4 separate regions of the Homo sapiens genome follow, and regions 1, 2 and 4 are each linked to region 3. Evidence: promoter capture Hi-C in 16 types of primary human blood cells and fetal thymus (Javierre and others, 2016). All regions are on one chromosome and are shown on one strand. Each heading gives the region's core, a stretch centred on a gene start or on the middle of the fragment in contact. The rest is flanking DNA. Distances are from core to core; before and after follow the strand shown. Region 1 overlaps BLK (BLK proto-oncogene, Src family tyrosine kinase). Region 2 overlaps FAM167A (family with sequence similarity 167 member A). Region 3 holds the start of FDFT1 (farnesyl-diphosphate farnesyltransferase 1). Region 4 overlaps FAM167A-AS1 (FAM167A antisense RNA 1).

The links. Contacts are between HindIII fragments. The CHiCAGO score rates a contact against its expected background, and 5 or more counts as called.
Region 1: a contact is called between a fragment that was not itself captured here and the fragment with the promoter of FDFT1 in region 3, in 1 of 17 cell types (naive B cells). The highest score is 7.2, in naive B cells.
Region 2: a contact is called between a fragment that was not itself captured here and the fragment with the promoter of FDFT1 in region 3, in 1 of 17 cell types (naive B cells). The highest score is 6.7, in naive B cells.
Region 4: a fragment that was not itself captured here is called in contact with the fragment with the promoter of FDFT1 in region 3 in 1 of 17 cell types (total B cells); the score reaches 5.7 in total B cells.

Annotation. Positions count from the first base shown.
Region 1 is chr8:11,528,723-11,531,572 of GRCh38, reverse strand. All of the region lies in intron 1 of BLK (BLK proto-oncogene, Src family tyrosine kinase), which reads right to left. Among named protein-coding and RNA genes, the nearest start is that of BLK-AS1, 28 kb to the left of the region's middle. The HindIII fragment of the contact is 224 bases long and covers 1,275-1,498 here.
Region 2 is chr8:11,448,992-11,451,691 of GRCh38, reverse strand. All of the region lies in intron 1 of FAM167A (family with sequence similarity 167 member A), which reads left to right. Among named protein-coding and RNA genes, the nearest start is that of FAM167A, 16 kb to the left of the region's middle. The HindIII fragment of the contact is 204 bases long and covers 1,344-1,547 here.
Region 3 is chr8:11,801,403-11,804,102 of GRCh38, reverse strand. It overlaps FDFT1 (farnesyl-diphosphate farnesyltransferase 1), which reads right to left and starts at 1,362. Exons shown (of 8, transcript NM_004462.5): 1 at 1,172-1,362. The coding sequence starts at 1,270. RefSeq lists silencers at 984-1,103, 1,314-1,563 and enhancers at 1,634-1,793, 1,831-2,572, 2,573-2,700. The HindIII fragment of the contact is 12,361 bases long and covers 1-2,700 here.
Region 4 is chr8:11,411,578-11,414,277 of GRCh38, reverse strand. All of the region lies in intron 3 of FAM167A-AS1 (FAM167A antisense RNA 1), which reads right to left. Among named protein-coding and RNA genes, the nearest start is that of FAM167A-AS1, 45 kb to the right of the region's middle. RefSeq lists an enhancer at 2,484-2,700. The HindIII fragment of the contact is 4,489 bases long and covers 1-2,700 here.

The DNA.
Region 1 (2,850 bases), core at 137-2,636, 270 kb after region 3:
AAAACCACACCAAGGTACATTATAATCGTATTGTTGAAAACCAATGATAAATAAAAACAATCTTAAAAGCTGCTTTAAAGAGGTACATTATATTCTTAGAAGAAAACCTAGAAGGAAATCTTTGTGACCTTGGTGTCACAAAGGATATAAAGAATATGAGTCAGAAGCATACAAACGTGACCTTCTATTCCCTTAGAATAGATTATTCCCTTAGAATAGAAGATCATAAAGTATACAAGAAAAATTGATAAATTAGACTTTTCAAAATTAAGAACTTCTGCACTTTAAAAACACCATTAAGAAAAGAAATAGCTAAATCAGAGACAGGCAGGACATTTTTGAAAAACATGTATCTATATGAGAATATATAATTAACTTTTAAACTCTATAAAAGAAGCCAAAAATTCAATTTAACAAACAGTTGAACAGAGAAGACAGCTGAGCAGCACACAAACCCATGAACAGGTGTTCGGTGTCGTCAGTCATTAGGGGAATGGCAACTAAAACCACAGTGAAATGCCACCACACAACCACCCAGATGCTAAAATTAGATGACCGATCATACCAAGTGTTGGCAAGCATATGGAGAAACTAGAATGCTCACCTGAGGCTGATGGTAAGGTGAAACGAAACAACTTTAGGAAACAATTTGGGAGCTTCTTAACCTGTGACCCAGATATTTCACTTCTTGTTGCTTATCAAAGAGAAATAAAAACATATGACCACAGAAAGACTTGACATATATGTTCTTAGCATTGTTACTCATATTAATTAGCTCCCAGCTGGAAACAACCAAAACATTCAGTAACTGGAAAAATCTTTTCGACTTTTCACTTAAAATTGTTGCTGATTCTTTTTGTTTTGTTTTTCAGAGTAAAGAAAACTTCTACTGAGCTATTTACAACTTTTAACAATTGAGCAAAATATACTCCTGTAAACAAAATTTAGAGCATATTTCTTTCTCTTTACCTGCCTTCTCCAGAATTTGGAAATTATTTGTGAGTATTTTTAACATAAGGCAATATAGTTACTTGAGTAAGTTCAATAAGAATGTGTTTTCTTTTGTAGCAAGACACAGTTGGAGACACTGCTTATTTTACCAAGGCTTTGACTGAAATGACATATTTTCAGACTGCTTTAAGAAATCGAGGCTGACCTACAGAGATGATGAAAGCCCCTTGGAGGAACTGACCTCCTACCTTGTCCTGTACAGGATTCCCGACCTGTGGCAAATAAAGAATGTCACTTTCTGACAGGCCCAGGAACTCCAAGCTTTGTTGGGACCTCAAGAAGAAAGGAATTCACCCAATTCATACAAGTATCTGCAGGCACAAATAAATCCTTGGCTGGGCTCAAGAGACTTTTAAAAGGTCTAATCTGAGATTCCTTATGAAAAAAATTCCAGCAAAGCCAGTTAGAAAAAAAGAGCCTATATGGCCAATAATTATTCTTGCTGCACTTTATGTAAATAATTAGGCAAAGTATAATAAGGCAAGCTTATTTTGCAAATAAATTGGTCTTGTCTTTAGTAAAAATAAACTGGAGAGAGAAAAATTATGTTTCAAAACAGCTACAGCACACCTGTTATTAGATTCCAGCCTCATCCATTGTTCTTGAGCTTCTGCTGATGACCCCATATTTGGTTGATTTTTGGGGTTATTCACCTGGATTCCTTGAGGCTTCAGGTCAGTTCTACAGGGACTCCTGAAGCTAGGACTTTTGAAACTGCCGCTGCAAAATTACAACTGAGACAGTGAAAGAGATCTAACCTAACCAACTGCATCTTGCTTCTAACCTCCAAGCTGTCCTTGGTCATTCCTGGGCATAGGCTGAACTAATTTTGGGAAGAAGTTAATTTATAGTTTGTAGTTAAAAATGAAGACAATAACAGCGCATTCCAGAAGAACCCTCCTTCTTTCCTGGGAACTAGATGCCTTTGTAGGACTAACAAATTAGCCACAGGATTAGAAATTATGATTTAGGAGTCATGCAGCTGGAGGCTACAAGATTCTGATCTCCCACCCCCCAAACTGCTCCTAAGATCAGCGCTTGAGATATTTTGCAGACCTGGCACTTGATGGATCAGCTGGCACCACCCAGATCAAGAAACCAGCTCATCTGATCTGTGGCTCCCACCCAGGAATTGACTCAGCGCAGGAAGACAGCTTTGACTCCCTGTGATTTCATCTCTGACCCAACCAATCAGCACTCTCGACTCACTGGCTTCCTCCACCCACCAAATTATTCTTAAAAACTCTGATCGCCGAATGCTCAAGGAGGCTGATTTGAGTAATAATAAGACTCCGGTCTTCCACACAGCTGGCTCTGTGTGAATTACTCTTTCTCTTTTGCAATTCCTCTGTCTTGATAAATTGGCTTTGTCTAGGCAGCGGGCAAGGTGAACCCACTGGGCGATTTACACTTTCACTCCTTATATTAGGGCTAATTATTATTATTACTATTATTTTAAATTTTAAGTTATGGGGTACGTGTGCAGAATGTGCAGGTTTGTTACATATGTAAACGTGTGCTATGGTGGTTTGCTGCACCTATCAACCCATCACCTAAGTATTCGGTCCAGCATCCATTAGCTATTTTTCCTGATGCTCTCCTTCCCGCTCCCCAATAGGCCCCAGTGTGTGTTATTCCCCTCTGTGTGTCCATATGTTCTCACCGTTCAGCTCCCACTTATAATTGAGAACATACAGTGTTTGGTTTTATGTTCCTGCGTTAGTTTGCTGAGGATAATGCCTTCCACCTCCATCCACTTCCATGCAAAGGACATAATCTCGTTCCTTTTTACGGCTCATTATTTTTCTTCTTAAATGCTGTACTAAATCTGTGGATAAG
Region 2 (2,700 bases), core at 196-2,695, 350 kb after region 3:
GGGCCTGAACAGCTGACTGGCCAAGCTCAGGTCACATGCTCACACCTGGTCACCAGGGCATGAGCTGGGAAGAGGAGCACGTGGTCCTCTGGTTGCAGAGAAGGCTGCACGGCCTGCCTGCTGTTCTGCACAAAATGGGGAGCTCCCTCCACACAGGAAAGGAGAGGGTGTTGGATATGGCAAACAGACACACAGTCCAACGAAAGACAAATAGCAGCAAGCATCCACTGTGCTCTTTAATATTCCTTCTCCAGTGCGTGCTGTGTCAGTCACTTACGAATGTCAGAAACCCCATCTCCAAGTAGCTGAAGCAAAAAAGGCGGAAGGTATACGCTGTGTAACCTGGGCAGGGCGGGTGGCTTCCCACGGGGCCCAGCTGCGGGCCCCCAGCTCCTTGCCACTGGGCTGTGATGGCCAAGCTGCCACACTGTCGGCTTGGCTTTGCTCTCCAGTTAGACCCTTTCCCCACATGTGCTGAGCATGGTGGCCCCAGCGGCCCCGGCCAGCTCAGAGCAAGGCTGGCCTCTGAGTGGTTCTGACACCAAAACTTCATCCTGTGTCTCCCCACGCCCCAGGAGAAAGGAAACCCCAGGGATGGGCTCCTGTGGGAAAGGGGGATGCACTTTCCAGAAGAGGGAGGAAGCTGCTGGATGGAAATGACCTCATCCTGCACTGGACTCCAAGGAGGCCCTCAAGCTAGGTCTGTCACATCAGACTGTCCCCTCCAACTCCAGCACATAGTCCTGGGATTTGGGATGAGCTGCAGCTGTTCCTGTCTTTGTCCCACTGCAGGCCCAGAGCCTGCACACCTATGTCTGGACACTTGTGGTCAGGGCAGGCAGGGTGGGTGGCATCCGTGGGGACAGGAGGGGAGGCACCATCCCAGGAAGCCTGGGTGTCTTTTTCTGCCTCTCTGAGCCCATCCAGGCTGGCTCAGATTTGAGCAAGGACAGGTCGCTGTGAGTGGGAGGAAATCTGTTTTATTGGCTCATTCATTCCACAGCATTTAAAGAGAGCAGCATTGTGCTAAGTACTGGAGGGTCCAGCATAAAAGGCTTGGTTCTCGTCCTGAAGTTGAGAGTCTGCTAGAGGCGACCATTGACAAAGGCCCTGGGTGTAAGTGCTGTGGCTTAAGAGGGGCAGTAAGCCCAGTGGTTAGGGGCCAGCTCAGAGCTAGACTGCAGAGGTTCAAATCCCAGCTTCACCACTTATAAGCTCTGTGGCTTCAGGCAAGGTCCCGAACCTGTCTATGCCTCAGTCTCTTCATCTGTAAAATGGGGATGATGATACCCCAGATTCATAGGGCTGTTGTGAGGATTAAATGTGTTAATACATGTAAAGCTTTTAGCACCACAGCTCGTGTGGTGTGCTGTAAGCATTAGCTAATGTTGCGATGACATAATTGTTTCTCTGATGTGCTCGGGTTGTCCTGGGTACACACAGCCCAGCCTGGGCAAATCAAGCAAAACTTCCCCCAGGAGAAAATCCCTGAGAACTGAACTAAGGCACAGAAGGGAGTGAAGGGCTTTCCAGGCTGGAGGAAAGCTTGTGCCGAGTCAGGGGTGTGAAAGAGCATGGTGTCCGGCGGGACAGGAGTGCTGGGTCGGGGTTGGAAAGATTGTGTCTTATGGAGAAGAAACGAAAGGGTTCTAGTGGAGAATGCGAGGCTGGAAGGAACAGCAGGAGCGCGTGGTGAGAGGAGGTGTGGAGGGGATGGGTCAGCAGTGCCTGCGTCTTCCCCTGCCCTTGGGAGCCCATCGAGGAAGTGGATGTGACCGTTTTCCAGGTGAACAGATTAGGTCATAATGAGACAAGGTGTTGGCTGAGCTGCCCCCACCTGGCTCCTCCAGCAGCCAGAGGAGTTAGCTCATGGTTGGCGAAGGCTCCTCCAAGGAGCCGCTGTGGGCCTGGGAGCCAGGGAGCTTGTTGGAACAGCAGTCTCTGTGTGTGGCATGGGTCCTCGGCACTGGCACACAGAGCTGCAGAAAGGCTGACGCGCCCCCCCAAGGGCTTGTCCCCACTGCTGCTGGGTGGCCTGCCTGGCGGGGCGTGCCTGGGCCTGGTGGGATTACAGGGTCTGATGTCGTTTTTCTAGACACCCTAGGTCCCAGGTCTGGCAGCGTCCTTTGGCTTCCTTCTCCGGCCCCTCCACCCCTAGGAACGACCCAGGTTACATGTAAAGAAAGCCCGTTTGTTTAGAGTGTTGGGGGGCTCTTCCTCCCGGGGCCTGGGCCCCAGGAGTCCCTGGTTTGTCAAGCGAGGGGAGGCCTCCACTGCTTTTCCAGCCCAGGAAGCTGCCCAGTGCTGGCATCTGTTCCCCGGCACCCGGCCAGCACCTCTCTGCCGGCTCAGGCCGGGTCCAGCTCAGTGCCCAGTGAGCAGTGACAAGCTTTTCTGCTGTCACGTCCCTGCGCCTGTGTGGGTGACATTCCAGCTGAGCTCCTGTGCCTAGTGGGAGGGAAGAAACCCCTTTGGGCTTGTTCAGGCACCAGGGCACCCAGGGGGACAGTGCTCCCCAAACACTGACGACCAGGAAAACACATGCTGCTTGAGCAACTCCTCGCGGTCTGACTGTGCTGGGGGCAATCCCATTCCTGCAGCAGCTCCTCACCATCTGGCTGTGCTGGGGGCAATCCCGTTCCTGCCAGCTACGGGTGACCACCTGCTCTAAAATAGTGACTCCCCAACTCAGGCCTCTCC
Region 3 (2,700 bases), core at 113-2,612:
TTCACTGTTGTACCTCCAGCACCTAGAACACTATCTGATATACAACTGGTCGTCAAATATTTGTTAAATAAATGAATGCTATATCTAAATATAAAAAGTGACATCTGCCATATCAAATAATAGAAGTTATTCTGTAGCAAAATAATTCAAATAATGTAGCACCGGCAAAGAAAAGATGAAGAAAACTGAATGTTCTACAAATAGACTGAAGGATGTACCTGTATTAAAGATAGCACGTGAAAAATAACACCAAATGAGGGTGTAGTCTACTGGGGACAAAAACCAGAAATTTATTTTCTAGTGTGTTTACTGAAGCACATGGACACTGAAAGAAAGACTCCGATGTTCAGGCACCTATCAAGCCTCGGCCTGAGTCACATTTGCTACTGTCCTGTTGGCCCAAAAAAGTTACAGAAATCAGCCAGGCTGGTCCAGACCAGAAGAACTTGGCTGAATTTGTCTATTCATTCAATAATCGCGTACGAATAATTTTCTTGTTGGAATAAAAACACCTCCTATGCATTCATTAAACAAATAGTACAGGCATGAGGCAGATAAAAATCTAAGTAAAACCAAGTTCTGACCTTCCACCAACCACCTAGCTAATCCATAGACGTTAGATAACTCATTGGAACTTGGAAGCGTAGATAGGCGATTTTAAAACTCAGGAAGCACCGAGGATGAAGCGATGGAAGGCAGCAAGGCGGGGAGAGCTCCGGAAGAGGTGGTGAAACTGGAGGAGTCAGACTTCATTCCAGAAACGGCCTTCATGTGATGTTATCTGCATAGTTCATTCCGCTTACCAAAAAACTCACTCGTCCTCTCCCGCGTAACCCACCCACATTGCCTCAGATGTGTAACCCTCGGGTTAAAATACCGGTAAGCGCCGATGCTCACGGAGGGGACGAAACGGGGAGCGCAACCACCGGGAACCACGCAAAAGTCGCTCATGCCCAGGGCGGCTTGCGGGGGCAGGGACAGGTCAGCCAGGACGGCCGCGTCCACCCGGGCCCTACAGGGGGAAGGCTCGAGGAAAGGGGGACGGGAACACCCAGGCGTCGGCCCTGCTCGCCGCGCCCCTTGCCCCAGATCCGGGCCCGGCCGCTCAGGCCCTGAGGCCGGCCCAGCGAGCTCCTTCCCCGCCCCGGGCAAGCAGGGAGGCTCGGCCCACCTGGTCCATCTTGGGCATCACCTTCCGCTTGCCCCCGATCCGGAAGCGCACCAGGTTGTAGAACTCTTCGGGGTGGCCAAGGCATTTCACGAACTCCATCCTGGCGCAGGCGGCGGACTCCCGGGCGCGACTCTCACCTCTGCGGTCCCCAGGCGCTCACCGGCCGGCTGGACCTGTGGAGTAGGTGCTTCGAGGGGCTGGCCGGACAGGGGGCAGGCCTAGTACGGCGACGCCCCGCCCGCCGCTCCGCCCACTTCAACCGGCCTCGGCCGCCAGCGGGGCTAGCTGCGGCCTCGTGGGGTGGGCTGACGGGCGCTGATTGGCCAGGGCCGCTCACACTAGGAAGACCCCGGCCAATCAGTCGCGGAAGGAGACTGGCGTGATAACACTCTAGAAGCTCATTGGAGGCCGAGAAAGAGGCCGACGAGCGGGATTGGTGCCCTGATGGAGCCGGGCCTTTGTTTTCTTCCGCTTACCCCGGCTGGGAGCGCGAACGCTGTGGGGACTGGAGGTGAGGCGGTGGGGCTTAGGATGCGCAGGAGCCCAACGGTGGTCCGCAGTCGGGAGAGCAGTGCGGGGCTGCTTCCTCCCCACTTGGTCAATAAGTCGCCCACGTGTCCGGCCTCGGTGGCTCCTGCCAGCCGGGTGAGCTCTGCAGCCGCTCTCTGTAGAGCCTAAAACCGTGAAAAGGCCGGGCCAGCGCCAAGCTGGGCGTCTTTACTGTAACACACCCGAGCACAGCCCAGCTCGCCTGCCCGCCACCGCCATCCAGCCCCAGGGAGCCCCACACACTCCTGGAGCTTCAGCTGCCCCCTCTCTAGTGTTTACTTGAGATCCAGCTTAGTCCTAGAAAAAGGAGCTGAAGCCTTAGAGAGCCTGTAACAGGAATGTGGAAACTTCTCTCATCCTAGATCTCTCCAGCCCTAGAAACTACTGGCTACCCGTCCAGGCGTGGTGGCTCACGCCTGTAATCGCAACACTTTGGGAGGCCAAGGCGGGTGGATCACGAGGTCAAGAGATCGAGACCATCCTGGCCAACATGGTGAAACCCGTCTCTACTAAAAATACAAAAAAGCCGAGTGTGGTGGTGGGCGCCTGTAGTCCCAACTACTCCGGAGGCTGAGGCAGGAGAATCACTTGAACCCGGGAAGCGGAGTTTGCAGTGAGCCAAGATGACACCGCTGCACTCCAGCCAGGCCAACAGAGCAAGACTACGTCTCCAAAAAAAAAAAAAAACCTACTGGCTACCTAAGCCATCCTGCAGTCTGTTTTAACACAGCAACCAGTAATCCTTTTAAAACCTGTCAGGTCTAGCCGAGCGCGGTGGCTCATGCCTGTAATCCCAGCACTTTGGGAGGCCAAGGCGGGCGGATCACCTGAGGTCTGGAGTTCAAGACCAGCCTGGCCAACATGCTGAAACTGCGTCTCTACTAAAAATACAAAAATTAGCCAGGCATGGTGGCAGGCGCCTATAATCCCAGCTACCTGGGAGGCTGAGGCAGGAGAATCGCTTGAACACAGGAGGCAGA
Region 4 (2,700 bases), core at 74-2,573, 390 kb after region 3:
ATGAGAGGATCACCTGAACCTGGGGAGGTCGAGGCTGCAGTGAGCCACGATCACGCCACTGCACTTCAGCCTGGGCCACAGAATGAAACCTTGTCACATGCACGCAAAAAGACGAGAACTTCTATTAATGTTTTAAACCTCTTCTTTTCTGCTTTCAATGTGCTCTAAATATGTATAATATATGGGTACAGACATGTATATTATATAAATCTGTTGGGGAATGCACAAACATTTTCACAGATGGAGGGCAAGTCAGACAAGAGTGAGGCCCGGCCTTTGCCTGCGCCACATTGGATTCACCCCATATCCAAGCCTCAGGCTGTGCCAAACTGGATGAGGGACGATGCTTCCTCATGCGAGGTGGCACGGGCACAGCCTCTGCCCAGTGTCCTACTGCCCCTGTGTGGCCACATATGGCGTCTGCACACACCTGAGTCGCTGGGTAAAAGGCACCATATTTCTGCCAATCTGCTCTGGGCTCTGTTCCCCTTGACAGACCTGTCACAGGACAAACCCCTAAACCGGGTTCAGCCTGGGAGGCCACATGGGTTCTTGGCTTTGCACAGGAAGAAATTCAAGAGTGAGCCGACAGAGTCAAGTGAAAGCAAATGTATTAGGAAAGGAAAGGAATAAAAGAGTGGCTACTCCATAGGCAGAGCAGCCCGGGACTGCTGGTTGGCTATTTCTTTATTGATCATATGCTGAAGAAGGAGTGGATCATTCATGAGTTTTCGAGGAGAGGGGCAGGGAATTCTCGTAACTGAGGGTTCCTCCCCCTTTCAGGCCATATAGGGTAGCTTCCAGGCATTGCCACAGCACTTGTGAACTGTCATGGCGCTGGTGGGAGTGTCCTTTTAGCAGCTAATGCATTATAATTAGCGTATAATGAGCAGTGAGGACGACCAGAGGTTGCCTTTGTTCCCATCTTGGTTTTGCTAGATTTTGATCGGCTTCTTGACCACATCTCATTTTATCAGCAGGGTCTTTGTGATCTGTACCCTGCAAAACAAGCCCTCCCCAACTCCTATCTCAAACCCACAATGAAGCCCATGTCAGAAGCACCAGGGGTAGAAAACAGAAGGTGGGGAGAGAGAGGGGGAGGAAGAGAGGAAGCAAGAGAGAGAGGAAGGGAGAGAGAGAAATGGGGAGAAGGCCAAGAAAGAGAGAAGGTGCAAGAAACAGTGAAACGCAGGAGGTTATTTTTAAGATGGGATATGGTCACCAAATGCAAGCACATGAACCAGCCTTCCTTTCCTGCACTGCCCCCATCTCCCCTTTTCAGAATGTTCTGGTCAAGTCTAAGAACAGGGCCTAGAAATCACAGCTTCTGAGTTTGAGGCTCAGGGGCAGGAGCAGATGCAAGACCCAGCAGCCCTGCAGAAGGCCCCAGTCCCTGACGCCCCATTCCACCACCCAGAGTGGCCTGCCATCACCCATTGTCCATGTGAGCCCAGAGCTAGCTCCAGCCAGGCGGGCGACTGCAGTCCCCTCTCATCTCTGGGCGGGCCCCTGGCAGGTCACCTCCACACAGCACAGCCCTTCAGGGGGCCCAAAGCAGGAAGGCAGGAGGCCCTACTGCCCACTTTCTGCAGGGGACAGAAGGACAGCGGGGTCACCTCCTGGATCCTGGCTCCCATCCAGCCACCTTGCTCTGCAAAGCTGCCTACGTGCTCTCTCTCTCTTTCTGTCTCAGAAAAGACACAGCTGATGGAACCATCATGAAAATGTTGCAGGGCACCCTGAGATGCAGAACTTGATTTCTTTTAAGCAAGAGAATTTGTGTTTAAAAGACTCCAGCCCCTTCTATTTCTAGCAGACGAGACAGTGAGTCTTCCTGAGACAGACGCCAGCATGGCCCCTTTCAGTGAGTGAGAGGAAAGGCAAGTCAGGACTCCTCTTCTTCTGCCGGAGCCAGACCCTCCACTCCCCACTGAGATTGCTAGGGAGGGATGGACAAGTGATTGTATTGGGGCCAAGAAGCCTTCCAGAAGAAAGGGCTCCTGGCTCCTTCCCAGATGAACGCTACTGAAGCATCTCTAACTGCCGGAACGCTGTGATCCCAGACAGGCCAGACTGTGGGACGTGGGTGAGCCCCATCACAGGGGCCATGACACTGGGAACCCAGGCCATGGAGGGGTGACATCCTCCACTTCAAGGGGCAGAGCAGACCTGTGAGGGGCAGCCCCAGGGACAAGCGAGTCTTGGTGAAAAAGGGAGAGGAGAAAGGTTTGTCGTGATGAAATGCGGCTCAGAATTATATCGCATAAAGTATTAGGAGAGGCATGACCTTATGTCGCCCCCGAGCTGCTGGGACACATGACTTAGAGCACGTGTCTCTTAGAGCATCTGGCTCTGCTGTCAGAGCCAGAGGGCTTCAGCAATCAGGGGGGTCTCCTCCTATGACAAGAAGCAGGTCCAGGCGCTGGAGTGGTCGGAACTGTTCATTCGCTCTGCCCTGCAGTGCCTCCTCCACCTACTCCCTGTCAGAGCCACAGTAGAGGAGGTCTGAGAACACATATCTGTCCTGGTCTTGCCCTTCTGCCTCTTAAACAAACGGTTTTTTCACTTTTATCCTGCGGACCCATGGTGTTAAGGAAATCCTAACGCGCCCCCTGCCGGAGACACGGAGATCTCTTTAGAGGTGCATTCTGAGAAACAGTTTGAAAAACGCCCGTGATAGTTGCTTGTGTTCTTGGCATT